Linked DNA regions of Homo sapiens: all the other regions are linked to region 3. Evidence: promoter capture Hi-C in 16 types of primary human blood cells and fetal thymus (Javierre and others, 2016). All regions are on one chromosome and are shown on one strand. Each heading gives the region's core, a stretch centred on a gene start or on the middle of the fragment in contact. The rest is flanking DNA. Distances are from core to core; before and after follow the strand shown.

Region 1 (3,337 bases), core at 837-3,336, 750 kb after region 3:
AGAGCACAGCTCTGCTTTTCTGCACTGTGGCCGCAGCTCAGGTGTGGCTGCGTTTTGTCCTTTCTCTGTGCCTCATGTGCGTTTCTCTCCACGCAGGTGTTTGTAGCCAATCCTAACAAGACGCAGCCCATCCTAGACATCCTCCTCAAGAACCAGGCCAAACTCATAGAGTTCCTCAGCAAGTTTCAGAACGACAGGACGGAGGATGAGCAGTTTAACGACGAGAAGACCTATTTAGTTAAACAGATCAGGGATTTGAAGAGACCAGCTCAGCAAGAAGCTTAATCTCCAATAAACATCTATGTTAAATCCAAATTCAGCATTTGCTGTTAGCTATTCAGCATCAGGCACTCTTATTGATTCATGAGGAACATTACTGCTAATCTGCTGTTAAGTGAACGGTTTTTCATTTTACCCTTTTGTTTTTCAGTCCAGGTTGGAGATCGTAGCTGCTGCTGCTTGCACACTAGGGCACATGTGGGCTTTCTCTTGATCTTTGTGTCATTTCAGAATTCAAAGACTGTGCTACGGGAGTTCTGAACATGGCTGGGTTCATGAAGGCAAATGTATGGATGAGAGTGTGGTTTAGGAAAGAGGGCACTGATATCAGATTAGACCTATGTGTTTGCACCCATCTTTGTTGGCGATCTGAGTGCAGTGTGGCAAGTGCACACCTGGCATCCCTGCGTCAGATCGCGCACCTTCAGGTCGCGCACCTTCGCTGAAGGAAGATGACGCAGAGCTTTATCTGAAATCAGAGGGGAGCTATCCAAAATGGGAGTTTGGGGGCAGCTAAAGTTGACATGCGAATAAATTGATACTGAAACTTAGCAACTTCTTAAAAGTGTAAAGAAGCCTCATAAGATCATAAGGAAAATGTATATATGCTTTTCACAGCTTTCTAGAATTTTTTGACATTTGATTTTCTTGAGACTTGTAAACCTGGATATGTTGAAGGGTATTTGTTAATTTTACTTTTCAAAGATACTTTAAAACAGTAGAGCTAGCAATGACACCTTGCATTTCATTTCAACACTGCTTCAAGGTTTCTTTTGTATATAATTCTTAGAATGCTCATTTCTTTTAAATGGTTTAATTTGTACAGCAGAGGAATGTTATTGTAGTAGTATGTAACTATTACCTAATACTGAGTTTTTGCAAAAAACAATGAATGCTCATATGTAATTGAAATACTTCAGATCACATGAAAATGCTGATTTAACATTTAAGTATCACAGCATTAAAAGAAAAAGAAAGTAAACCAGTCCTTTGTATTCAGTTACCTAATGGGGTGCCATCAATAAGCTGCGATACAGCCCTGGAGCTCAGTCAGCCACACCTTCCTGCATCCTATTGGCCTTATTCATTTTAAATGAGTTAATGAATCTGCCAGATCTGTGAATGATAGAGATTATGCTAAATTAATGCTGATTCTTTGTGTGTGTGGGAAATCTCTGTAGAGCACCTTTTCTTTCTTAGACTAAGTAACCCAGTACAATAGTTGTGAACTGAATAATTAAAACTTTGGCTTCTCTTAGGAAAAGACGACTTCCTAGTCATAGGTGTCCTATGGGGAAATTTATTTTTTTTAATGTCCTGTTCCTTAATGCTGCAAATTATCAGTATTTATAAAGTAACTGATTTTGCACCACTTTTTTGTTACTGTGACCACGGCAGAACAATGTCTTCTAGACTATATCTATGTAAAGTTATTAGAATGGTATCTGTTCATTTTAGTGATATGAAGATCACAACTAACAACTGACAAATCAGAGTTTGCCAGTTCAAATTCAGCATGGCTGCAGCTGATTAAGAAATTGATATGATTATTCTTTGCTAGCCTCTCTTACTAATGGAATTATATACTGGCCAGTAAAATGGGCCTCCCAATTGCTGTTTCAGCAGGTTTTAAACCTTCAGGAACACCAGTTAGGAAAATAGCTCCAGAAAATATAGATATATTTTATTTTTATTAAAATGGCAGTCTACATCATAATTGGCATTTCTCAAGACTGTCTTTACCAGAATCTGTGTGAAATAAGGCAATCTAGTCTCCTTGAAAAAAAAATCTCTTGGATGTTTAGGAAGGAAGACTTGGCCGTGATGTGGTGTCCTGGCTTTGTGGTGTAGTGCTGTGTGTATGGAGTTAGTGTAAAAACATGGATTACACCAAGTGGAAGAAACGTCTTCTTGCCAAGCTCATTCTTAGAACTTACACATCTAGAACAGCTTCCACTTTGGCAGTGAGGTCGTAGCCTTTTAGGTGGAAGAAGTGAGGGTGCAGCGTGTCAGACACAACATTCATGTTACTCTTACATTGGAATCTGAAGGTAGTTCAGACTTCGTGGGTTTTGTTTTTAAGCAAAACAATGTGAAAACATTTAAGTTTGAAATGTTGCATTTGAAGTTATGATCATTTAATATATTCATATTACCAAGACTATTATACTGGAAGTGGTTTTTGTGTTATAAAGGTTTAATTTTACATAAGGCAGTTACTTAATGTGATTTTTAACCCTTAAAAAAGTGGAGATGTATACATTTGTTAACAATGCCATGAAAGCATTTTCTTTCTCCTAAGGAAAAGTGAATTTCTTATCAGAATATCTGGCTGGCCCTGTAATTTAAATTAAAATAAAATTTTGGAGAAACAGCATTGTCTGTCTTTATGATGTGTTATAGACAGTTGCATTTGTGTTACTGTGAACAGCTTCATCAGGAGACACACAAGCCCGAATTTTATCACCAACTGAAAGTGGAGGGACAGTTAACACCCATTCCTGTCTGCCTTTTTCCCTGTTCAGGGGCTTCACTTCCCCCCCACCGCCCCCGTGCTCATGTTTTCCTTACCCTTCCTGAGTAAAATCACACCTTTTAATGGTACCATTTCTTAGACCCTAACGTTTGAGGAGTAGATCCTCTCTTGCGCTGTTAGCAACACCGCGAGGCTAAACTAGAACACTCGGCCCGGAGTATTCACAGGTTACTGATGTGAAATGATCATGAAGGCGAGGGGACCGTGGAAGCAGGCACAAGAACTCTGGCACCGTAAAGAATGTCCCTCGTCTGCCTTCCAGGGTGCCTCGTAATCCTTAGTTCACAGCCCTGCCCTCGACTTTAACCCCTGTCAGTAAATGAAATCTTATTCTCTGGAGTGAAGGCAAGGGACATGCTCTTGCCAAAAACACTTCATCCGAATAACAATGTCCTATTTGTTATTTCTGTCAAGTAGTTCAGTCTACTTGTACGTTGTAGTTCCCCAAAGGTGACAAGGGCCCATTAAGTCATAACTTGTGACTTGGCCACTTATAAGGATCACCAGGCTGAGGACTGGATT
Region 2 (3,205 bases), core at 223-2,722, 840 kb after region 3:
ACTCTTCCCTCTCCCCACATGTGAGGCCATGCTGCTGGTGTACTTGACTTGGACTGGCCTTAGACATGGAATGTGCCACATTCACTAGAGCACAGGGGCATGGCATGGAAAGGACATTTATGCCTGGCATCTTCCTTAACCACTTCGGCAGAAAGCAGCTGGGTGAGCAAGTGCGGCCAGGTCCTGCCGTGAGACCCACCTTCCTGTGCCTCTCCCACCTCCCATGACTTCCTGGCTAGCAGGTGCTGAGATCCCAAGATATCGATGTATCAGGGAGGAGACATCAGCATGGACTCCCACCAGAGAATCCCATACTAGTGACCACTGCAGCTATTTATTTTTATTTTTATTTTTATTGTTTTTGAGATGGAGTCTCACTCTGTCACCCAGGCTGGAGTGCAGTGGCACAATCTTGGCTCACTGCAACCTCTGCCTCCCCAGTTCAAGCGATTCTCCTGCCTCAGTCTCCTTCATAGCTGGGATTACAGGCATGCACCACCACGCTCACCACCCCTGGCTAATTTTTTGTATTTTTAGTAGAGATCAGTTTTCACCATGTTGACCAGGCTGGTCTTGAACTCCTGACCTCAGGTGATCCACCCACCTCGGCCTCCCAAAGTGCTGGGATTACAGGCGGGAGGCCCCGCACCTGTTCCTAAAACTTCTGTTATTAATTAAAGCTTCTGTTATTATTTTTCATAGCTTTTTATTAATTTTAAAAGTATTCCAGGCGCTCAATAAGATATTCGAAGAGAACAAAAGAACAAGCGTAGGAAAGTCAGCCTCCTTGTACCCTAAGGCCTCAACTGTCCTTTTCAAAGGCAGCATGGCTTACAGCTTCTTGCATATTCCTCCCAGACATTTTCTAAGTAGATACATATATGCAAATATATGCATGCATACATATACATGTATGACTTCTTTAAAATTTGGAAATAATATACCTAGAGCCCCTGTCCCTTGCTTTTTCGCTCATCAATGTTTCTTGGACATTGGTCTATATCAGCATATATGAATGGCTTGTTTGCCTCCCATTGTGTAGGTATACCAAAACTCATTTAGCCAGTAGCTTATTCATAAACATTTAGGTTTCCAGTATTTTACCAGGAAACAATGAATTCCACAATAAGCATTCCTATGACTTATTTCTTTGCTGTGCAGCTATTGCTAACAGAATTCTCATTCTGCTATTGTTTCTCATCACTATTGGGCGCCCGTGGGAGGAAAAAATTGGGGTGTGTTTTAAGATCTTATATGTAATACCATTCCCAAGCCCTCTCTGATCTCTAATGAAAAAGAAAATCGATATATATAGATAGATGTTTATAGGTTCATATATATATCATCCATTGAGCACTACGCACTAAACATTTAACATACATTACTTGATTTGGTGGCTTTCCAAAGATTCTATGGTTTCCAATGTGTTAACTTTTCTCACAGATTTATGTAATGAGAGATCTAGGAAAAAATACTTCCTCTTATTCAAAGCCTTGGTGTCCTGTGGTCTGTGGGGATGGTGCCTCCTAGGGGTGTGTAGGAGTAACTGGTCCTACTCAGGATGCTCAGAATCTGCAAGGTGGGGTGGCCGCCTCCTCACTAAACATGCTGAAATGGCCACAGGCCTAGCTCAAAAAATTACTGGAATAGCTTGGAACTCACAAGGCAAATTTCAAAAATGATGAGAAAAGCAGGTCAAAGCCCAGTTCAAGTCTAAATGTAAAATGTTGCAACACCAAAGAGGAAGATGGAATTGGCTTGGAGAAGTTGTCTTCAAGACCAGAAACAGCAGAAAACCAAGAACCACAAAGATAAGAATGAATACAAGTTTATGTTTAAAGAGATCCAATAAGATTTTGAAAAGGGAACTGAGGACATCTGTCTTTGTCTGGGTCACACTAACCAATTAAGAAAAAGGAGCCACCAATGACAAAAGCTCAACACTCAGAGGCCCTTACTGTCAGCTGTTACCGGCCAACTGCATGGATGAATCCACCGTATTGCTGGTGGTTCAAAGTGGCCAAGAAAACAATCGGTGATGCTCAAAGTCCAACCCAAACCCAGACACAGTGTGTGGCTGAATTGGGGGAACAAACGAATAACAACGGGAGGAAAGTGATCTGACAGAAAGCACACAACCTCAGGTGCTGGGATGAGTCTCCATTGACAGTAGCAGGTATATTCATAGACACAATTTGGCCATCAGTATTCCCCGGTAGGATTATTCTAAAGGTCACATTTGAATTACCGACAGACTTCAAATGGAAGCTTCTCAGAGGGTAGTCTTTGAAGCCAGAGAAGGCACTCTATGGGCTGGCAAGAAGAAATTAGGTTGAAAAAATACTGCCGGCTAATGGCAGAGTGAACAGAGAATCTGAAAAATTAATTTGAATTCCCTCTGAAAGTCCAAGGAAACCATCTTTTTAGAGTCTTTTTCAAAAAAATCAGAAGCCTCACTGTAGTAAGATAAAAAAAAGGCATCAATGCACTCCAAACGGCAGCAAGAGATGAAACAGTCATCCTTCTCAAAGAAGTTTGCTAATAAAAACCAGTCTACTTGTGGGTGGGGGAGGGGAACGGGGCGGGGGGCAGCAACTAGCACCATTTGCTACTTGTGGGGTGTGGGGCCATTCCATTAGCAGCTCCTGTTCTGGCCAACCCAGGGGTCCACCCCAATCAAGCAATGGTACTGTAGTTGGCTGGGTGGGAGGTTGAGTCCCCTCAGGTCCCCTGAGAAGCAGATGCTAAGACAATGCTAGACAACTCAGAGATTAAACAGGGGAAGTTCCCATGAAGGATAGTTGGGAGAGAGAGCAGGAGGAGGTGGGGTGAGCCTTCAGACCACCTGCAGGTCTGACTCTGTGGAAGGAGAGAGGGAAGGAACAACAAGGTGGGAAGGACTTCAGACAGCAGTGCAGATTTCAGCCCTTCTTGGCCAAGCCATGGGGCATCTCTGAGCAAAGGTTGCCTGTTGGAGGAGCCCCACATCCGCAGAAATCGCCCCAGGCTAGTGCCTCTGCCCAGTTCAGGCACTGGCTAGGAGTAGCCCAAAGAGAGTGGCATCAGCATCAACATCACCATGGACCTGAAGCAGCAGAGCTGCACTGACTGTGGTCAGGGACCCTGGGAGTGGGTTCTCTGGAATTCCGGGGAGGTCTCAGCAGCACCCCTGCATAGCTGCCAAGGAGCCATCCCAGTGCTGCCA
Region 3 (3,272 bases), core at 515-3,014:
GCCTTTAGAGGGCGCACTTGCGGCCAGCAGGCTGAAGAGGCTGCCGCGGAGAAGGCTGGGGAGCGGAGCTGAGCTGAGCTGGTGCAGACAGCATAGGAGAAAAACAGAACCGAAAAATTCACACCGAATTAGGAGGACTCAACACATACATGCTTCGCTCTGGGTCAGGGACTGTGCTTGGTGGCTTCTCCTCCAGTCCAATTGGCATGAATGTCCGCATTTTACAGAGGAAGAATCTGAGCCATCAAATGGGAGCAATGAAGCTTAGAAAGGTTAAACTAGCAGGCTGTGGAAACCAAATCGGAACCCAGGCCTGCAGGATCCCAAGCCTGTTTTACCTCCTCCCACCCCCAACACTGCCTCTCTCCCCTCTCTTCTCTCTCTCTCTCTCTCTCTCTCTCTCTCTCTCTCTCACACACACACACACAGCCGCACACGCACGCACATGCAAACAAAGAAGCCAGACAAGGCAAAGGAGAATCTCTCTAAGCCCCAATAATGGCCCTCAGTCATCCTTGTTAATGAGCCCGAATCAACTTTTCCTCAGAAAGAAAATGGCTTAATTGGAAAGCAGAGTTCAGCTCCTAAAACATCGTCATGGCCTTGGCAGCGTTTAGCCCCGAAATGGCCGTCCCCGGTCTCTCACCCCATTTCAGCCTCTCTTGAGGAGCCTCAATCGGAAGCGCTAAGGGGGCCCAGCCTCTGCGCGCCCTGGGTGCGGGATCGTGCCCGCGGGGTCCGGCCTCGCGCCCCACCCTTCGAGCGCCCGCCCCCACCCGCGCTCGGTGCTCCCGCTCCCTTGGCACCCCGAGACCACATCCCCACTTCGGGCACCCCGCATCCCTCGGCGCGTTCGGAAGCCAGCAGCCCACCGGGGAAGCTGGGCCGGCTGCAGCACCACAGCCTGTGCAGAGAGGCATCCGCACCCCGCGAAGTCCCTAGGCGCAGCCCCGGGTCCCCCGCTCTGCGCCTCATCACTGTCCAGTTCGAGTCCCAAACGGGCCTAGAGAGCAGCCGGGCAGCGAGGCTGGGCTCCGGGCAGAACGCGCTTCTCCAGCCGGACGGGGGTGCCCAGGATGACGCTCGCGGGGCCCCGGCCAGCTTGAGCAGCAAGGCGCGCGTCCCCAAGCTCCGCCTGGCGGTCTGCCCTGAACCGCCGGTTACCCTGCCCGCCCGCAGCTCCCAAGCCCCCGCGGCGGCCTTGGCACTACCACCTGCCCCGGCACAGTCTCGCCCTCCACCGCCCGGGCAGCCTTTCCCGAGCCTGCCTTGGGCTGGGGCTGCCCCTTCCCGGGGGTCCCTGGGGGTGCAGCGGCCATCTGAAACCTAGGCTCCGATGCCCCCGGCGTCGCTCCATTCCCCAGGCCCGCGGCGCGCGCGGCCTCGGATACTCACCGCCCGAGGCCCGCTGGGCTGCGGCCTCACTCGGCTCCACGCCCGGATCCTCGAACTTGCTGCTCTGCTTGGAGCCCCCTGAGCTGCTGGGTGTAGAGATTTGTTGCAATGTCGCCTATCATCCTGGAGACGCGGGTGCCTGCGGCTCAGCTCTCCGCCCGGCTCGGTGCGCTCTGTGAGGGGCTCCCGGGCTCTTCCGCCGCTCGCTGCCAGGCCAGGTGAGCGTTTGGTGGAGCTGAAAGCTCGACGCCTCAGTCCAGGTGGCTTTAAAACGGGTGCGTTTGGAGGTGCCCAAACCTAACCTGGGCTTCCTTCCAATCGGAGCAATTTCAAATCTTCATGCTCGTTCATTCCTATACCGGCTAATTCTGGTTTGGCAGGGAAAAAAAATGCAGTCACCTCACATGCACACTCTTGTGGCCGGTTGAAGTTTATAGCTTTGGCTGAGGTTCCGCTAAGGCGCTGCACATTTATCACTGGCGGAAAGGTCCTGAAATCTAATCCAGGATGCAAGTGAGACTAGCAGTAGCCTCCATTTCTCTGAGATGGGAGAGAAGGGATGAAACAGACCCTCACTGAAATATTTTTGGCCAAAGAGGACTCAAAGTCCCTTATTCTCTCTCTTTTAGAGACACGGGTTTCACTATATTGCCAGGCTGGTCTCGAACACTTGGACTCAAGGAATCCTCTGGCCTTGGCCTCCAAAGTGCTGGGATCACAAGCTGAGCCACCGTGACCGGCCAGTCCCTCATTCTTGTTTCCACCCTGGGTCCCACCTCTCCCTGCTCTTTCTGCACGTCCATTACCTACCTTCGTGGGCACCAGGCACAACTTTCATCTCAATACCTCCCTACCTCATTCCCAGCAGGGCACACAACATAGTGCTTTGCCTTGGACAGTTTTCTGTATTATTGAAGTGAATGTGTGAGTCGATGAAGCCTGTGCTGTTTTTTCCCGCCTGAAGGTTTTGCAGTAATTCTCTGCTGCTGTTGTGATAAACTGCCACAGTAATAGCAGAGGAAAACCACACAAATTCACTATTTTACAGTTCTGGAGGTCGGAAGTTTGAAATGGGTCATACTAGGCTGAGATCATGGTGTTGGCCACCTTGAAGGCTGTGTTCCTTCTCGTGGCTGTAGGGGAGAGCCACCAGCTTCTGCAGGCCGCCCACATTCCTTGGCTGGTGGCTCTTCCTCCATCTTCAAAGCCAGCACTGCTGCGTCATTTTGTCTTCTTTCCATACTCACATTGCCTTGTCTCCCCTTTTCTGCCCCCACCCCTGTCCACTTTTAAGGACCCTGGGGATTACATTGAGTCCAATGAGATAATCCAGATAATCTCTCTATTTTAAGGTCAGCTGATTAGCAACCTTAATTCCATCTGCAACCTTAATTCCCCTCTTGCCATGTAAGGTAACAAATTCACATGTTCCAGGGATTAGGATGTGGACATCTTTGGGAGACCATTATTCTGCCTACCACAGATTTCCTTCTTTCTTCTTTTCCTTTTTCTTTTCTTCCTTCTTTTTCGTTTCTTTGAAAAAAAATTCACATGTATTTCACATTGCCTTCCTCGGTCACCCAAGCTGGAGTGCAGTAGCATGATCACAGCTCATTGCAGCCTCAACCTCCTGGGCTCAGGTGATCCTCCCACCTCAGCCTCCTGAGTAGCTGGGACTACAGGCACACGCCACCATGCCTGGCTAATTTTTTTGACTTTTTATAGAGACGGAGTCTCATTATATTGCCCAGACTGGTCTTGACCTTTTGGACTCAAGTGATCTGGCTGCCTCACCCTCCCAAAGTGCTGGGATTACAGGCATGAGCCGCTGCACCCGGCCTATATTGCTATTTCTTATATCAATTCTGTCTCTCTTT
Region 4 (3,063 bases), core at 304-2,803, 800 kb after region 3:
AAAGAATGCCACTCATAGAAGGTTTCACATGACCACATCCTTGGTGGCTGGGTTGTGTCTTGGGCATCTCTGTTTTCTGCCACAGAGCTTAACACAATGCTTGGCACACAGGGGTGCTTGGAAAACACTGAGTGAAGGAATGCATGTTGGGGGTGTGGCCTAAGCAAGACGTGGAGCTTGCCTTCTCCAGACACCAGGTTTCCCATGGGATCTGGAGCAGGTGATGAGCGGTAGTCCATAACACCTTCCTCTCTGGCTCTGTGCCAAACCAGATTCCTCCTCGTCTCCTCCAAACCATCTGTCTTCTTCCACCTCCCCATTCCCTCCCCCCAGTTCCCCAGGCTGGTGGCCTTAGCATCAGTTAGACTTTCTTCTTTCCCCACCTGTCTGTCCTCAAGGTTGCTAGGTTCATCCAAGATCTGAGCCAAGAGGTCCGGGTCTGGGACGTGGGCGCTAAGGGCCCAAGGCAGCTGCAAAAGACCTGAAAGGTGAGAAGAGAGATCAGTGGAGGACCCCGGACTGTCCTCAAGAAGCGGACGGACTCCCCTGCCCTCCACTGGCAGCCCAACAGCAGAACCAAAGCGGACCACTCAGCACAACCTGTGTGTGTTGCTGGGCGCTGTCCCTGGCCCAGTCTGGACCAGGAGCAAAGAGGAAAGATTCAGGGCGTTAGTGCCAAGAGCAGCCATCCCAGCAACAGAAGCCCCTGCTTCCCCAGTACCCGTGATACTTGGGAGGAGCAGAGTCTTGAGTGGAACCCGAGCCTCTGACACCCGCCCTGGGGGTCTTCCCTCCACTCTCGCCAGGGTCCTCCTGGATGAGTGAGACAAGGGCAGTTCAGGAGGTCACCCAATAACTGAGGTCGCAGCAACACGAAGGAGCCAGGGAGCAGGGGCGGCCTTCCCTTCTCCACTCCAGGCGGCTCCAGCGTGCACCCCAGGACCCCCCAGGAAGGTTTTGCAGGAATAAAGAATGAAGGCAGAAGCAAGATGGAGGATGAAGGAGGCGTGGATGGCTTCAGAAGGCAAGACGGAGGCAGCAGTTTGGCGCCTGTCTCAAAGCCTCCTCCCCGCGCCAAGGACAGGTCGGAGGAGGGGGGCGTGGGGACAGGTAGAGCGGAGGCTCCAGCGTTTCTAAAGGGGAAGACCTGAAGTGGGGCAGGAGAGACGGGTGAGTTGTCTGGAAGCTGCATTTGCCTGGCAAACACTGGGTTAACAAAGACTTGCGTTGCGGGGATGCTGGCCTTGGACAGGGAATGCGAAGGGATTATGCTACGGAGAACGGATCCGAGCGTGACGGCTGAATGAATGAGTGAGCGAGTGAGTGAGTGAGTGAGTGAGCGAGCGAGTGAGTGACTGTGCGAGCGAGCGGCAGAAGGAACTCCGACCCGCCCCAGGTGCGGAGCGGCGCGCCCGGCAGGGGTCACTGCGGGCCCCGCGGGCGGGAAGGGGGCGCAGGCGCGGCGGGCGCCGGGGCCCTCCCGCGGGGACGGGGCGGGGAGGGCTGGGGGTGGGGTTAGAGAGAGGGACGCGAGCGGGATCCAAACTTCCGGTGCCTGCAGAGCTCGGAGCGGCGGAGGCAGAGACCGAGGCTGCACCGGCAGAGGCTGCGGGGCGGACGCGCGGGCCGGCGCAGCCATGGTGAAGATTAGCTTCCAGCCCGCCGTGGCTGGCATCAAGGGCGACAAGGCTGACAAGGCGTCGGCGTCGGCCCCTGCGCCGGCCTCGGCCACCGAGATCCTGCTGACGCCGGCTAGGGTGAGAGGGTCTGGGGCTCAGGCGGTGGGGCGGGGGACCCAGGCTCACGACCCAGGCGCGCCCCGTCGGCCCTGGGGACTGCCCGAGGCGCGTCAGGGCCCCAGAGCCCGGGGTGGAGCAGGGTTGGGAAGTCTCGAATGGTTGCTTATCCCAGAATGAGGAGGGGGCTTAAGTCCCGTACTAAAGCGGCAGCCAAAAGCTGAAGTCCGAAGAGTGGGAGGCGTCTGGTTCTGGTCTTCAGGTGGAGAAGTGCTCGAGGTCTCTTCCAAAAGTGGGGGCCCCCTCGCCGCCTTATAGGGGGAGGGGGCTGGTCCGAAGAAGTTCGAGGAATGTTGGTGGGGGGGTACGCGTCTGGTTCCAATCAACTGGGAAAGCCGCGAGTCGAGTCCCCAGGTGGGGGATGGGAGGAGGGTTAGACGTAGTTTTTCCAAAGTAGGGCGGTGGGACCTGATTGGCTGGGGAATTGGGGGTGGGGGGGTCTGGTACCAACGAAGAGGGTGGGGCCGTTGATTTCCTCCGAAATTGGGGGCTGCGAGGGACAGAGGATGTGCTGCTGGCCTGCACCGGAATTGACAGACCAGAAAGTGATGAAATGGAAATCAGCCAGAACCGACGGCGCTGCGGCCTCTGGACGTCGGGGGTCCGAGGCCGGGTGCCCCCTTCCCACCCCACGCCCTGCCGTCTGGGCCTCCCTGCTCCCCTCTCTTTTCTCCATTCCCAGCCTCTCGCTGGGCTGTCCCCCGACCCCACGGGGAGGGCTCCCAACTGCCCCAGTGCCCTTGCATCCTGGGTCCCCGGGCTCTGTGCGCGTTCCCCCACCCCTGTCATCCCCCTCCCCTACCCCGGCTTCCTCCACTTTCCCTCTGGCCGGGGGGGAGAGAAGGCATTTCCGCCGTGGAAAACTGTCTGAGCTGCGTGCCTTGTGTCCGGGAAGGGCCCGCAGGGGGCAGAACGCGTGGCGGGCAGGGACAGGGAGGGAGGGAGAGCTGGCCCAGCCAGGTTTTATTGTGCCTGGCAAAGGTGTCTACGTGGGCGCCGCCCCCAGCGGTCTTGTGGCTTACCAAGCCCATGTCCTCCCCGCCTCCCCACCCCGCATTGAGGCAGGACTGAGAAAGTCTTTGTCCACTGCTTCCCCACTTCCAGATGCAGGCTTCTGAAGAGTCTTCCTGAACGCCTAGCCCCCTCCCCAGGTTTTGTGGCTCAGGTTCAGTCTTGCCTGGGGCATTAAGGGGCCTGCAGAGGATGACCTGGACCCTGGAGGAGGGGGCGCCGGAGAGGGCCGTCAGAGTTGGGTGTCAGCCTGGGC
Region 5 (3,079 bases), core at 269-2,768, 720 kb after region 3:
ATAGGCATGCACCACTATGCCCAGCTAATTTTTTGTATTTTTAGGAGAGATAGGGTCTCTCACCATGTTTTTCAGGCTGGTCTCGAACTCCTGAGCTCAAGCCATCCATCTGCCTTGGCCTCCCAAAGTGCTGGGATTACAGGCATGAGCCACTGTGGCCTGCCTCAATTAAACACTTTTAAGGAATCCCTTGACTTCATGGTATGATAACATCACATTTCTCTACATCCATTTGTAATCTGAATTTTAAACCCTGTGATCAGGAATGCTGATTTTCAGCCATTCATCAATAATGTATGAAGCATTTTAAGCAACAGCAATGTCTTAGTCATATTTATGTTATGAAAAGATAATTCTAGGTGTGATGTGGAGAATGCATCCCCATTAGGCCCCCTGCAATCCAAAGAAACCAGTCAGTACACGATATATTAATCTAGGCAAGAGTTATGGGAACTTTGATTTGGGTGGTGATGGTAGACGGGGATAAATGGATGGATTTGGGAGTCAGTGATGAGTTAGCTATTGGGGCGAGGTGAAGAGGGGAGAGTTGAAGATGACTCCTAAATTTCTGACGTGTAGTAACATCATCAGTGGTATCATTACATGAAACGGAACAAGGCAGGATATCAGGCACTAGGGCGAGATCTTGAGTTCTATTTTAGATGTATTCGATTTGAGGTACCTTGAGACATTACGAGTGGAGACATTTTGAGAAGGCTGCCCAGTGGTACTGATAAGGCCTGGGAGAAAAGAACTGGATTAGAGATAGGAATCTATGAGGCATCTGCATTTAACTGTTAATTAAAGCAGTGGGTGTGGATGAGATCACTTAAGAGTCTAGAGAATAAGAAGAGGAAGCCCTAGTACCCTGCCTTGCGGGATTCCCTGTGTTTAAATGGCCTAGCCAAGGTGAATGAGGCAAAAAGGAGACAGAGAAGGAGCAACCAGAGAGTTAGGAGGGAAAATAAGGATGGTGGTGAGTCACGGAGGACCAGAAGAATGGTTTTCAGAGGCGGGTGTAATCAGCAATTCCGAATCCTGTGGAAAGTTCAGGTGTAATTGTTGGGAATGAAGTTTTTGGTGTCGGGAAAAAGAGAAAAAAAGAATTAACGCGGGAAGAAATGATCTCTCAGCAGAGAGAGCTTTACTTTCTGCAGAAAGGGTGCTACTCAATAGTTGTCTGGCCACGAGAGCACACCGAACAAAGGAGACAGAGTTATTTATAACCTGACGTGTTTACCCTACTGCTGTGTCCAGTTTCCATTGGCTGGGATAGGACCTCACATTTTACACTTTATCCTATTGGCTATTAGTTTAAAACTTTCTTAAATAGGTAAGGGGAACAGAACAAAGAAAAGGAAGTTGTCCAGGACTAGTTAAGGAAGCATCTCCAAATAAGGAATGGCATGCACTGTGGGCTCCGGTGTGCCTAATTCTGTCCAGGCATGCTGGAGCAAGCTAGGAGAGCTGATTTGGAATACATACATATACACACTAATAGTGCACAGCAATCTTATAGTAAGAAATTGTGACTTTTCATAATCTTTGAAAAAGAACTTCCCCATTTCTCACAGTAATAAAGACACACAATTGTATTTAATGACATGCAGGTCAGTGACTAGCCAAAAGGATTGGGCTGAAGAGTGAGTGAGGAAAAAGACTTGGACTATGGTAAATACAGGCAAATGTTTTGAGAGGTTTAATTATGAGGTGTGGGTAGTAGCTGGGCAGGGGCGCGTGGGCAGGGGGGCAGGGGGGCAGGGGGCGGTTGTGGAATCTAAGGAGGGCCTATTCGATTTTGTCAAATGGAGTCTTAATCAGGTTTAAAACTGATAGGAAGAAATTAGGTGAGGGGAGATTGACTCTGTGAGGAGGAGGTGAGGTAACAGGCAGGGTGAGTTCCTAAGAACGCATGGGGGTGGGGAGATCCAAAAGCAGATGAGGATTAATGTAGGTGGCGGGTGCAGTATCAGCTGGTGAGGGAATTCCTTCTGAAAGAGAAGGGGGCTTTATACAGAGTCCACAATGCCATTCAATTCAGAAGTACAACAAATAGCTTTCTCTCTCTTTTTTTTGAGACAGGGTCTTGCTCTGTCACCCAAGCTGGAGTGCAGTGGTGCAATCATAGCTCACTGCAGCCTCAACCTCCTGATCTCAGCCTCAGCTTCCTGAGTAGCTGAGACTATAGGTGCATGCCACCACACTCAGCTAACTTTTGTGTTTTTTTTTTAAGAGATGGAGTCTTGGCCGGGCGCGGTGGCTCACACCTGTAATCCCAGCACTTTGGGAGGCCGAGGCAGGCGGATCACAAGGTCAGGAGAGCGAGACCATCCTGGCTAACACGGTGAAACCCCGTCTCTACTAAAAGTACAAAAAATTAGCCGGGTGTTGTGGCGGGTGCCTGTAGTCCCAGCTACTGGGGAGGCTGAGGCAGGAGAATGGCATGAACCCGGGAGGTGGAACTTGCAGTGAGCCAAGATTGCGCCACTGCACTCCAGCCTGGGTGACAGAGCAAGACTCTGTCTCAAAAAAAAAAAAAAAAAAAAAAAAAGAGATGGAGTCTCACCATGTTGCCCAGGCTGGTCTCAAACTCCTAGGCTCAAGTGATCTATCTGCTGCAGCCTCCCAGAGTGCTAGGATCACAGGCGTGAGCCACCACACCCAGCCATAAATAGCTTTCTAATTATGTTCCTGTCTCTCTCTTTCCTTCCTTTTTTTGGGGGGTGGGGTGGGGATGGGGGGAACAGCTTTATTGAGATATAATTTACATGCCGTATAGTTCACCCATTTGAAGGGTACAATTCAGTGGTTTTTAATTTATTCACAAATATGTGTAACCATAACCACAGTTAATTTTAGGACATTTTGTCACCTCACAAACCTGTACCCTTTAGTTATTCACCTCCCTTCTTTCTTACTCATCTTTTGCTGTCAGAATAGAATATGGTCTGAATTCAAATTTGAAAATCATATAATAAAGTATAAACTGAGGTACATGAAGAATTGTTAAGAGCTTTAAAACTTTGATCTAACCAGAGAAGCAAAGGAGGCTGAGGCCTCCTACTTATGGTCACTGGTG
Region 6 (3,239 bases), core at 211-2,710, 690 kb after region 3:
CTGAAAATATCTCTGTTGCATAGCACCGTAACACTTCCTGCAAAATACCATTAAACATTCCCACCCTCCACATCACTGCTATTATTTGCAGAGTTACAGATAGGAAAGATAATATTTTCAGAGGACATATTGTGAGTGTGATACACTGTTTATGGAGAAGCAACTTGCATGCTTCCCCCCCACCCCCTGCCGCCCACTCCCCTGCCCAAAGGAAAAAGTAATGATCCAGGAAAAGGAAAAGAATGATCCAGGCTTTGTGTCCCATCTGGCTTGTAGAGCGATCATATGACAGCTAGTTAAGAGTGACTCCCCTAACGTCAGTTCAAACTTTTAGGCATAGAAAAGTTATTTAGAAGTGGACTTAAAGATCCTTGGATTTTATGGCTGGGCATGATGGCTCACACCTGTAATCCCAGCACTTTGGGAGGCCGAGGTGGGTGGCTCCCTTGAGGCCAGGAGTTGAGACCAGCCTAGCCAACATGGTGAAAACCCATCTCTACTAAAAATACAAAAATTAGCTGGGTTGGTGGTGCACACCTATAGTCCCAGCTACTTGGGAGGCTAACGCTGAGGCACAAGAATCACTTGAACCTGGGAGGTGGAGATTACAGTGAGCCAAGATTGCGCTGCTGCACTCCAACCTGGGTGACACAGCGAGACTCCAAAAAAAAAAAAAAAAAAAATCCTTGGATATTTAAGAACCTATGACAAAGGATATGCATTAAACTATTTCTCTTTGGTTAATTTTGTCAAAAAAGGATTTACAAGGTGACAGAAGGTAAGATAGGCAATATTTGGGGTTAGAGATTGGTTGGAACAGTTCACATCAGAACATGTTGAGAAATAACATACTTGTTTATGATTTAGTTGTAGGCTTGACATTAGCATTCATTTGCATGTTTTAAACATTCTTTATAAACAAATATGTAAGTCACTCTATTTCAAACTTAAGGGAAAAACACTCAAGTTTGTTCATCAAATCTTAGGTAAAGCTCAAAAGAAGTGTTATGATACTATGCAATGGATGTATTTTTGTGTTTATATAGAAGGGGAAAACAAAGTGGGGTTGGGGTGTCTGAGAGCCACCTTTTCTTGGGTGTGTGTGGGGAGCACCTTGGGCAGTTAAATATAGGATGTTGAAACTTACAGTCAGAAAACCACTGATCTAAGTGATCCATAAGGTTTTTCTAAAAAGTGTCATCTTTCGGTGTCTGATAGGAGACTGTTTAGTGCCTGTGAATTTAACTACTTCTAGTTTTTTTACTGAAAAATGGTAACTTCCAACATGTTCCCAAGTCACTTCCATTGTTTGTCTTGTTAACTTTGTTTCTTCATAGTGCCTTCTTGGAATAGTTGCATGTTCTCCTTTTGGATGATGTAATACTGTGGTTTATGTGGTTGAAATGTTGTTTTCTACTACCCACAAAAAATTAAGAACTTCTAGAAGTTCATCATCCTCAGGGTTTTATCCAGCGAGTTCTTTCATAGGAGATGGTCAAATCCAGGCAAAAAGAGTACATCTTGACAACTGTCACATAGGGGATTACAGGATCTAATGGGAGATTTTATTCCCCTGTCCAGGCTTCTCTCTAGCTCTGAGACCCTGTGACTGCCTGAATAAGATGGGTGTGCCGAGGAAGTGTGTGCCATATTCAGGGCAGCCCACTGGGGTGCTTAGGAGGAGCAGCGTGAACACCGGGAAAAGAGCATCTGGAGAGACCTAGATAGTAGGCTGTTGCTAGTGCTGTTTGGCTAAACACCCTACCTAACTTTTTGCCTCAGTTGCCTCAGCTGTAAAATAGATACTATCAATTTGATGTACAGTGTGGTGATTAAGGACGCTTTGGATCAAGACAGATCTGAGCTTGTTTGACCACTTAGTACCTTGAGCCTCACGCTCAACCTTGCTAAACTTCACCAGTAAATAGGAGCAGGAGATTGTTAGAAAGGGTTTCATGAAATGATGAGTTCTAGTGCTCAGCATCAGGCCTGGCAGTAGCAGTTGCCCTGTGAGTGGGAGCTGCTGCTCTCTACCTCAGCAGCATCAGTCAGCATGTTCGTCCCCATTTGCGTGGTTAGGAGAGCAATTGATTTGAAGGAAAGAAAAACAAAGTGTTTTGAAAAATACAGTGTTCTGTAATTCTAAGACATCTGTGTATTATCATTTCTTGCATATATTTGTGGATTTCCCTGTTCCTACTGATTTTGAAAGTTATGTAAAATGACTTGCCTAAACACGGGTTTTCTTCCCAGATTAGGATTTAGAAAGTCTGTCTTCCGTTGATCCCAGTGTTTGCTCACATGAACCTTGTGCTGTGTTCTAGGTAGCACAGGCGGAGTGCAGCGGAGGCCCCTGCCGCTGCCGTCATGCCGTTCCCGTTTGGGAAGTCTCACAAATCTCCAGCAGACATTGTGAAGAATCTGAAGGAGAGCATGGCTGTTCTGGAAAAGCAAGACATTTCTGATAAAAAAGCAGAAAAGGTATGGATTTGGCTTTATTTATATTTGAAATATCTTAATTAGCAAATGCAAGACACCTTATATGAGGAATCAGTAAGTCCCAATTTGGGTTTATTTTGGATTTTAAAAATAACATCCAAAAGCAACATATGCTGCTGTTGCAACATACTTTTTCTTCTGTATTTTCGTCTAACAAATAGATTTCTAACTGTTCTGTCAGGTTTTCGAGTTTATTTAAATTGTGTTTATTTCATCTTGAAGTGTTTGATTCTAATTTATTTATTTATTATTACTAATTATTTTTGTAGAGACAGGGTTGTGCTATGTTGCCCAGGCTAGTCTCAAACGCCAAGCCTCAAGCGATCTTTCCGCCTCTGCCTCCCAAAGTGCTAGGATTACAGTTATCAGTTATCTGCTTGGTTGGTTTGTTTGTAAAAGTTTTAGAGCAAGAACAAAAGGAAGTAAAGTATACTTGAAAGAAGGCCAAGCAGGCAACTTGAGAGCTATAAGTGCCACAGTTACCTGATTCTTGAAATCGGTTCTTCCCCCACAATCTTCCTGGGAGGACACCCCTCCTGGTTTTCTTCCTGTATTCAGTGTATCCGTGCCAAATGCCTCCATCTACCCAGTCACCACAGTCCAAAACCCAACTTTCATCCCACTTGTGACTTGCCCTCTCTTCCCTAAAATATAATTTTTCACTAAATCTTGTTCAACTCCCTAAATTGTTTATGATTCAGTTCTGACTTCCATTCCTTCTTGAAGAAGTTGTTCATACT
Region 7 (3,164 bases), core at 402-2,901, 730 kb after region 3:
CAGAGCATATTCTTATAATGGAAAAGAAGAATAGATCTATGGTTCATGCTTTCCTTTGAGAATGTGGCAAGAGCGCCCTCCCAGAAAACGTGCTCTGCACACAAAAATTTCCAAACATGTGGCTCATCCATAGCCCTGGAACAGGTGCTGAGTCTTTAAAGGAAATTAGAACTGCTCTAGGCCAGGCATGGTGGCTCACGCCTGTAATCCCACCACTTTGGGAGGCTGAGGTGGGTGGATCACCTGAGGTCAGGAGTTTGAGACCAGCCTGGCCAACATGATGAAACCCCGTCTCTACTGAAAATACAAAAAATTAGTTGTGGTGACATGCGCCTATAGTCTCAGCTACTCAGGAGGCTGAGGCATAAGAATCCCTTGAACCTGGGAGGCAGAGGTTGCAGTGAGCCGAGATCACTCCACTGCACTCCACCCTGGGCGACGGAGTGGGACTCTGTTTAAAAAAAAAAAAATGCTCTAAATATGTCCAAAATTCATAGCTTGAATAAATGGATGCTCAGATAGTAAACCAGATGGCCAAATATTTGTAAATTTTTTTTTCTTTTTTGAGGAATTAAGGAGATGGAGAGGGGCATTAGAAAGCCAAAAATGTTTCCAATGTTCTAGAATAAAAGAAGGTAGCCTCACCAGACTGTGCCTGTGTAAGGTTCTAGAAAGTATGTCTAAAGAGATGGTTTCTGCCACTCAAAACCACACAACTACATGGAAACTGAACAACCTGCTCCTGAATGACTACTGGGTAAATAACGAAATGAAGGCAGAAATAAATACGTTCTTTGAAACCAATGAGAACAAAGACACAACCTACCGCAATCTCTGGGACACATTTAAAACAGTGTGTAGAGGGAAATTTATAGCACTAAATGCCCACAAGAGAAAGCAGGAAAGATCTAAAATTGACACCCAAATATCACAAAAGAACTAGAGAAGCAAGAGCAAACACATCCAAAAGCTAGCAGAAGGCAAGAAATAACTAAGATCAGAGCAGAACTGAAGGAGATAGAGACACAGAAAACTTTTCAAAAAATCAGTGAATCCAGGAGCTGGTTTTTTGAAAAGATCAACAAAATTGATAGACCGCTAGCAAGACTAATAAAAAAGAAGAGAGAAGAATCAAATAGACGCAATAAAAAATGATAAAGGGGAGATCACCACCGATCCCACAGAAATACAAACTACCATCAGAGAATACCATAAACACCTCTATGCAAATAAACTAGAAAATCTAGAAGAAATGGATAAATTCCTGGACACATACACCTTCCCAAGACTAAACCAGGAAGAAGTTGAATCGCTGAATAGACCAATAACAGGCTCTGAAATTGAGGCAATCATTAAAAGACTGTCAACCAAAAAAACTCCAGGACCAGACGGATTCACAGCCAAATTCTGCCAGAGGTACAAGGAGAAGCTGGTACCATTCCTTCTGAAACTATTCCAATCAACAGAAAAAGAGGGAATCTTCCCTAACTCATTTTATGAGGCCAGCATCATCCTGATACCAAAGCCTGGTAGAGACACAACAAAAAAAAACTTTAGACCAATATCCCTGATGAACATCAATGCGAAAATCCTCAATGAAATACTGGCGAACTGAATCCAGCAGCACATCAAAAAGAGTATCCACCACGATCAAGTGGGCTTCATCCCTTCGATGCAATGCTGGTTCAACATACGAAAATCAATAAACATAATCCGTCACATAAACAGAACCAAAGACAAAAACCATGTGATTATCTCAATAGATGCAGAAAAGGCCTTTGACAAAATTCAACAGCCTTTCGTGCTAAAAACTCTCAATAAACTAGGTATTGATGGAACGTATCTCAAAATAATCAGAGCTATTTATGACAAACCCACAGCCAATATCATACTGAATGGGCAAAAACCGGAAGCATTCCCTTTGAAAAGTTGCACAAGACAGGGATGCCCTCTCTCACCACTCCTATTCAACATAGTGTTGGAAGTTCTGGCCAGGGCAATCAGGCAAGAGAAGGAAATAAAGGGTATTCAATTAGGAAAAGAGGAAGTCAAATTGTCCCTGTTTGCAGATGACATGATTGTATATTTAGAAAACCCCATCATCTCAGCCCAAAATCTCCTTAAGCTGATAAGCAACTTCAGCAAAGTCTCAGGATACAAAATCAAGGTGCAAAAATCACAAGCATTCTTATACACCAATAACAGACAGAGAGCCAAATCATGACTGAATTCCCATTCACAATTGCTACAAAGAGAATAAAATACCTAGGAGTGCAACTTACAAGGGATGTGAAGGACCTCTTCAAGGAGAACTACAAACCACTGCTCAACGAAATAGAAGAGGACACAAACGGAAGAACATTCCATGCTCATGGATAGGAAGAATCAATATCATGAAAATGGCCATACTGCCCAAGGTAATTTATAGATTCAATGCCATTCCCATCAAGCTACCACTGACTTTCTTCACAGAATTGGAAAAATCTACTTTAAAGTTCATATGGAACCAAAAAAGAGCCCGCATTGCCAAGACAATCGTAAGCACAAAGAACAAAGCTGGAGGCATCACACTACCTGACTTCAAACTCTACTACAAGGCTACAGTAACCAAAACAGCATGGCACTGGTACCAAAACAGAGATATAGACCAATGGAACAGAACAGAGGCCTCAGAAATAACACCGCACACCTACAACCATCTGATCTTTGACAAACCTGACAAAAACAAGAAATGGGGGAAAGGATTCCCTATTTAATAAATGGTGCTGGGAAAACTGGCTAGCCATGTGTAGAAAGCTGAAACTGGACACCTTCCTTACACCTTATACAAAACTTAATTCAAGATGGATTAAAGACTTAAATGTTAGACCTAAAACCATAAAAACCCTAGAAGACAACCTAGGCACTACCATTCAGGACATAGGCATGGGCAAGGACTTCATGACTAAAATACCAAAAGCAATGGCAACAAAAGCCAAAATAGATAAATGGGATCTAAATAAAGAGCTTCTGCACAGCAAAAGAAACTACCATCAGAGTGAACAGGCACCCTACAGAATGGGAGAAAATGTTTGCAATCTACCCATCTGACAAAGGGCTAATATCCAGAATCTACAAAGAACTTAAACAAATTTACAAGAAAAAAATCAAACAACCCCATCAAA

Evidence for each region. The method cuts DNA at HindIII sites, captures the fragments that hold promoters and counts their contacts. A CHiCAGO score of 5 or more calls a contact.
Region 1: a fragment that was not itself captured here is called in contact with the fragment with the promoter of SLC16A14 in region 3 in 3 of 17 cell types (neutrophils, naive B cells and total B cells); the score reaches 6.0 in neutrophils.
Region 2: a contact is called between a fragment that was not itself captured here and the fragment with the promoter of SLC16A14 in region 3, in 1 of 17 cell types (total B cells). The highest score is 5.4, in total B cells.
Region 4: the fragment with the promoter of ITM2C here is called in contact with the fragment with the promoter of SLC16A14 in region 3 in 1 of 17 cell types (total B cells); the score reaches 5.9 in total B cells.
Region 5: a contact is called between a fragment that was not itself captured here and the fragment with the promoter of SLC16A14 in region 3, in 2 of 17 cell types (naive B cells and total B cells). The highest score is 7.2, in naive B cells.
Region 6: a fragment that was not itself captured here is called in contact with the fragment with the promoter of SLC16A14 in region 3 in 3 of 17 cell types (total B cells, naive B cells and total CD4 T cells); the score reaches 10.0 in total B cells.
Region 7: a contact is called between a fragment that was not itself captured here and the fragment with the promoter of SLC16A14 in region 3, in 1 of 17 cell types (naive B cells). The highest score is 6.2, in naive B cells.

The regions. Positions count from the first base shown.
Region 1 is chr2:230,818,420-230,821,756 of GRCh38, forward strand. CAB39 (calcium binding protein 39) reads left to right here. Exons shown (of 9, transcript NM_016289.4): 9 at 97-2,656. The coding sequence ends at 285. Among named protein-coding and RNA genes, the nearest start is that of ITM2C, 45 kb to the right of the region's middle. The HindIII fragment of the contact is 3,617 bases long and covers 279-3,337 here.
Region 2 is chr2:230,912,085-230,915,289 of GRCh38, forward strand. The region is part of intron 1 of GPR55 (G protein-coupled receptor 55); the gene reads right to left. Among named protein-coding and RNA genes, the nearest start is that of GPR55, 12 kb to the right of the region's middle. The HindIII fragment of the contact is 1,588 bases long and covers 679-2,266 here.
Region 3 is chr2:230,067,160-230,070,431 of GRCh38, forward strand. It overlaps SLC16A14 (solute carrier family 16 member 14), which reads right to left and starts at 1,765. Exons shown (of 5, transcript NM_152527.5): 1 at 1,396-1,765. The region is part of intron 1 of LOC107985995 (a long non-coding RNA gene); the gene reads left to right. RefSeq lists enhancers at 473-1,243, 1,639-1,758, 1,769-1,828 and silencers at 619-868, 1,139-1,408. The HindIII fragment of the contact is 4,045 bases long and covers 262-3,272 here.
Region 4 is chr2:230,863,389-230,866,451 of GRCh38, forward strand. It overlaps ITM2C (integral membrane protein 2C), which reads left to right and starts at 1,554. Exons shown (of 6, transcript NM_030926.6): 1 at 1,554-1,757. The coding sequence starts at 1,638. RefSeq lists enhancers at 238-896, 1,555-2,213, 2,214-2,870 and silencers at 1,304-1,673, 1,774-1,863, 2,654-2,753. The HindIII fragment of the contact is 7,451 bases long and covers 1-3,063 here.
Region 5 is chr2:230,783,638-230,786,716 of GRCh38, forward strand. All of the region lies in intron 2 of CAB39 (calcium binding protein 39), which reads left to right. Among named protein-coding and RNA genes, the nearest start is that of CAB39, 72 kb to the left of the region's middle. The HindIII fragment of the contact is 5,725 bases long and covers 1-3,079 here.
Region 6 is chr2:230,757,635-230,760,873 of GRCh38, forward strand. It overlaps CAB39 (calcium binding protein 39), which reads left to right. Exons shown (of 9, transcript NM_016289.4): 2 at 2,325-2,481. The coding sequence starts at 2,368. Among named protein-coding and RNA genes, the nearest start is that of CAB39, 46 kb to the left of the region's middle. RefSeq lists an enhancer at 1,286-1,385. The HindIII fragment of the contact is 5,262 bases long and covers 1-3,239 here.
Region 7 is chr2:230,801,411-230,804,574 of GRCh38, forward strand. The region is part of intron 5 of CAB39 (calcium binding protein 39); the gene reads left to right. Among named protein-coding and RNA genes, the nearest start is that of ITM2C, 62 kb to the right of the region's middle. The HindIII fragment of the contact is 4,096 bases long and covers 1-3,164 here.